Linked DNA regions of Homo sapiens: region 2 is linked to region 1. Evidence: promoter capture Hi-C in 16 types of primary human blood cells and fetal thymus (Javierre and others, 2016). All regions are on one chromosome and are shown on one strand. Each heading gives the region's core, a stretch centred on a gene start or on the middle of the fragment in contact. The rest is flanking DNA. Distances are from core to core; before and after follow the strand shown.

What was found. Contacts are between HindIII fragments. The CHiCAGO score rates a contact against its expected background, and 5 or more counts as called.
Region 2: a contact is called between the fragment with the promoter of GRIPAP1 here and the fragment with the promoter of FOXP3 in region 1, in 1 of 17 cell types (total CD8 T cells). The highest score is 6.0, in total CD8 T cells.

The regions. Positions count from the first base shown.
Region 1 is chrX:49,263,300-49,265,999 of GRCh38, forward strand. FOXP3 (forkhead box P3) reads right to left here and starts at 1,411. Exons shown (of 12, transcript NM_014009.4): 1 at 1,362-1,411. The HindIII fragment of the contact is 2,410 bases long and covers 285-2,694 here.
Region 2 is chrX:49,000,993-49,003,692 of GRCh38, forward strand. GRIPAP1 (GRIP1 associated protein 1) reads right to left here and starts at 1,272. Exons shown (of 26, transcript NM_020137.5): 1 at 1,196-1,272. The coding sequence starts at 1,237. RefSeq lists an enhancer at 1,281-1,390 and a cis regulatory region at 2,663-2,700. The HindIII fragment of the contact is 9,873 bases long and covers 1-1,613 here.

The DNA.
Region 1 (2,700 bases), core at 161-2,660:
TACTCACCTAGGGTTAGCTTAAGTAGAGGGAGCATAAAATAGGACAACCTTTTGGAAGGAGAATTAGCAGAGAGGGTCATAAACTTTAAAAATGCACGCCCCCTTTGCCCCAGCAACTCCCTTTTCAGGAATCCAAGGAAGCAGTCAGGGATGTTTATAGAAAAAAACGAGAAACAACCGGAATGTCCAACAATCGGCACTTGGTCAAATCAATCAAAGTTCATGCTGATGTGAGGACAGTCTTGTCCATCATGAAAGATCATGTGTTCAAACAATTTTTAGTAAGCTTCAAAAACACTACTGTTAATTGAATAAAGCAGGAACAAAACCAATATATAGCATGATTCTAATTTGGTTACAGAAATACTAATAGCTAACACTTCGTGAGCACTTACTTTGTGCCAAACGCTGTGCTAAGCCTGCAGAATCGAGCTCACCCCAGCCCTGAACAACCTGTTTGCTTCCTGAATATGGACTCTGGTCACACACATGCAGTCCTGGGGTAGGTCCACACAGCTAAACTACGGTTGACAATGGTGTGAAGTGCTCCCTGCCCCCCCGCCCCAAGGGTCTCCTCTAAAGCGATACAAGCAAAGTTCAGTTAAGTGCTCAGCTTGCCCCGGCACCTTGCAATCCTCCTGCTACTAGGGTGAACAGAACTGATGCTCACTCTCATAAAATGTAAAGGTCCTCGGCGACATTACTATTATTAAACGCCAGCTGTGTACAAAGCTCTAGGCTGGATGCTGGCTGGGAAGGCAGGTGGGGGAAGGCAAGAAAAGAGAGCGGGAGAGATGGAGGAAAGGAGATCGATGGAGTGTGGTCAAGATGGAGGAGACAGAGATAGGGGAGATGGTCAGAGGCCAGGAGAGATGCGGGGAAAGAGAGTCTGAGTGTAGCGACAGACAGATGGCGGGAGAAAGAGAGGCAGAGAAACATGTAAAAGAGCAAGACAGGGTGAGCAGAGAGACAGAGAAGGATGAGAGGCATCAAGAGCTAAGAGACAAAGAGATGAGAGAGATGCAGTTGAAATTTTCAGTTGCACCTGGACAGCATTTCAAGTTGTTCAAAGCTCTGAAATCCATAAAGACTGGCAGCTGACATATTTTAAAAATCCTATCCATCTACGTATCAATTGATGAATTCATTTATTTTTGCCCCTGCCCATGCATTAAGTACTTCACCTTTAAGTCTTCTGCCATTTATTCTATTATTTTTTTAAAGACCTTACCTGGCTGGAATCACGGTAGCTGGGTACATCCCACTGTACCAGAGGGCCCCTGACCCCCCCGCCGTGCCTACCTCCCTGCCATCTCCTCCAATGGGGCCCACATCTGGTAGGGGAGAGCAGGGACACTCACCTTGGTGAAGTGGACTGACAGAAAAGGATCAGCCTGGCTTGTGGGAAACTGTCACGTATCAAAAACAACTTTGCTTTTATACCGAGAAGAAAAACCACGCTGTACGGTGTGGAAGCCGCAGACCTCTCTCTTCTAATAATCCAAATTTTTTTCGATGAGTGTGTGCGCTGATAATCACGGGGTGGGGAGGGGTTCTCATAGTTTTTTTTTTCTCTCTCTCTGTGTTTCTCCTTTTCTTGATTATGAGACTTAAACGGAAATTTTGAAATTTTGGGTTTTTTTCTTTGCCCTTTACGAGTCATCTGAAAATATGATTTCTTCCCCTCACCACAGAGGTGAGAGGTATCAATGAGATAATAGGGCTCATGAGAAACCACAGTTTTTAAAACAAAAGTGTATAGAGTTTGAAAAAAAAAAAACAAGGGAAAAGAACTAAAATAAATCACAGGGCCAACCCGAGGCAGGCAGAGACACCATTCTGTGAGTGAGAGGATATTTGAGGGTCTCTGGGGAAAGAAAGAGAATCTGAAGCTCTATGTGTGGATGGGAAATGCCAGGGAAAGAGACAGAATAGGGCTGGGTTCCCAGAGGCCTCGCCCTACTCCAGGCCTCAGTTTCCCTATAGATGGAATTGATATGGTCCCCATTGCTTGAACTACCCGGCGAGGGGAGTTCTGCACCCCCTGCAACACCCCTCCCACAGAGGGTGAGGGGCATGTAAGTTACTTCATGGAGGAGAAAGCGGAGAGCCCACTGTCATCCCCTAAAATTCATGGACTTGAAGAGTCGGAGAATCCCTGGCTCCCAGAATCTACTGACAGTTACTGAATGAGGAAAGAGAGAAAAGTCTCGCCTCATCACGTTTTAGGGCTTGAGTGCCCTGACCCAGCCACTGTCCCACTGGGAAGGTCCCTAGCAGGTCCCCAATATTAATGCATCCATCCTCACGATGAACCCCAGAGGCCCATTGGGACCCTGACCCTCTTGTTTCAGGAACATCATGGCCTGATGCTTCTGAGGCCCTCAGCCTTTGGGGTCTTTTACTTCAAAAAGCCCCAGTTTCCAAGGATTTAGGATTCCAAATATCCGCCATCATCTCAGTAGCTGATGTTTATCTTGAATTTTCCATGGGTCAGATACAGTGCTGAACATGTCTCACAAGTGATCATGTTCAATCCTCACCATGGCCCCTTGAGCTCCATCTCATCATTATTGTATTCCTGTTATACAGATGAGGGAAACGGAGGTATAAGTAGTCAAGCAACTTGCCCAAGATCACAGAGCTGGCGAGTGTGGGTCCCGCTTTCTTTGGTGCTGGGCTTTGAAATCCCCAAGCTTT
Region 2 (2,700 bases), core at 22-2,521, 260 kb before region 1:
AGACTTGCCCCCCAACAAAGCCCAGTAGTTCTCCCTCATTCATGGCCCAGTGGGATCAATGTTCCTCATTCAAGGGTATTCCCACTCCCCTCAAGATCTCCCCAGTCATGATCCATTGGGAATGGCCCTACACCCTTCAGGGTAGGCCTCTACAAGGCCTTGGGTAGGCCAGTTGGATGACTCTTACTCACTTAGAATCCCTTTCAGATGACAGTGGTCTTCCCCATTCATGGGTTAATCAACTCGCCCTTCCATTCTCAGTGTCCCTCACACAGGGACAGCTGGTTTCCCTCATTCAAGGACCAATTGGATTACCTGTCCTCCCTCAGAGTTCCTCCCCTCCCCATGCAGGACCCTGTTCAGACCCCCCCCCCAGTGAGGAACCCTCTCAACAAGGGCCCATTCATAGTGCAATGCTATGGCCTTTCATTGCATCTCAGAGTCCCCCCAAAAGAATCAAGTGGGGGTACCTCCCCAAAGCCCAGTGATCTTCCCTCCTTGTAGTCCAAGGTATCAATCTTTTACCCCTCTGGTCCTCCCCCCAGTTAATGGGATTAATGGTATTACCCATTCATGGCCTTCTTCACCCCAGGCCTAATGGGATCACCCTTAATCATCCAATGGTGCCGCCCCCTCTTAGGATGCACTACCAACCACCAATGGCACAGGATCTCCACCTCCCAGGAACAATGACAACATCTGGGGTCTTTCCCCAATCCCCGGGCACAGTGGTATCTCCCCCAAAACTTACCACCTCCCACCCGCTAATGGTTCTGCCCTCTCAAGGGCTCCCACCACCATGACGCAAACGACCCAACACCCGCTTCCTTCCTCTCCAGACAAAATGGTTTCGCCTTCTCAGGATCTCCTTCCCTCAAAGCCCATTATCATCACCCGCCGACGGTGTCCCCTGCACGGGCCCAAAAGTCTCGTCCCCTCCAGGTCTGAGTAAGGTACCGCCTACTTAATGGCGCTCTCCCAGCCCACAATGCTAACAGAGTCCAACCTTCAAAGCCGCAGAGTATCTCGGAATCCAATAGTCTCACCACTCCGAGCCTCAGTTTCCCTTCTCCAGACCCACCCCATAAACTCAGGGTCCATCCCAACCAACCCCTTCTCAGAGCTGATAGCACGACCTCTCGCTACCCCGCCCCCGGTCGCCTAGCCGGGTGGTCTTTCCCACCGCGAGCGGCACCTGCATCCGCTGAAACTCCTCCTCAGACAGAGCTTGCGCCATGTTCCTCCCCCCACCCCCCCGCCAGCTTTCTGCGCAGACGCAGCTCGCGCCTCCTGGCAGTATTAAGGTCGGACCAAACCACTGGCCAGGAATGGAGGGGGTAGAACCTAATTCCGAAGGGCAGCATTTTGGAGACGCAGAGAAGAGAACGAAACCGACGAGTCAGGTGAACTGTAATACAACGTTCTACCCGAATGTAAGTCATCTGATTGGCTTTTGGACTCTTCTAGGCCACCCATTGTGATACGACATTATTACATCCCCGTTTCATGGGTGGACTCGTCGCTAGGGAAGTCTTTGCCGACAGAAAATCACCCTTCCGCGGTATTCCTTTAATGAGAATGGGTAACTTAATAACCATAGAAATGAAAGCGGAAGCTTCGCTCTGGTCTTGTTCCCGCCCCTCCTCCGGGAGACCCCAAAGGGGAATCCCACCTCTTGTAAAGCCTTTGGCCTTTTTTTTTTTTTTTTTTTTTAAGGTTTGACACTTATTTTGTTATCATGATACTGCATGTCACGTTAGGTAAAGGACTTAGCCACCAATAAAAATAGCAGAGTGGAAAGAGTGACAGTGAATCAAACGAAAAAGCTACATTAAAACAAAACAAAAACAAAAAACAAACCAGGGTGGTGAAACACCAGGCTCATTCAAGTATTAGAATTCACTATAACCCTCACCGATCTGAGAGTAAGAAATGGTATCTCAGTGTAGTTTTTTTCTTATTTTCTTTTTTCTTTCTGTTTTTGTTGTTGTTGTTGTTGTTGTTTTTCTTTTTTGAGACGGAGTTTCACTTTTGTTGCCCAGGCTGGAGTGCAGTGGCACGATATCCGATCACAGCAACCTCCGCTTGGCGAGTTCAAGCGATTCTCCTGCCTCAGCCTCCCGAGTAGCTGGGATTACAGGCGCCCGCCACCTCGTCCGGGTAATTTTTTTTTTTTTTTTTAGTAGAGACGGGGTTTCTCCATATTGGTCAGGCCGGTCTCGAACTCCCGACCTCAGGTAGTCCGCCCGCCTCGGCCTCCCAGAGTGCTGGGATTAAGGCGTGAGCCACCGCGCCCAGCCTTCTTATTTTCGTAGAATTTAATGATTTCCCTGCTGTGGAAAAATATTTCCAGCAGGGCCGGGCGCGGTGGCTCACGCCTGTAATCCCAGCACTTTGGGAGGCCAAGGAGGGCTGTTCACTTGCGGTCAGGAGTTCGAGACTAACCTGGCCAACATGGTGAAACCCCATCTCTACTAAAAACACAAAAATTGGCCGGGTGTGGTGGTGGGCGCCTGTAATCCCAGCTACTCGGAAGGCTGAGGCACGAGAATCGCTTGAACCCGCCAGGCAGAGGTTGCGGTGAGCCGAGATCGCACCACTACACTCCAGCCTGGGGGATAGAGCGAGACTCTGTCTCCAAGAAAAGAAAGAAAAAGAAAAGTATTGCCAGCCAGGACTCTTTGATTTCTTTCTTGATTT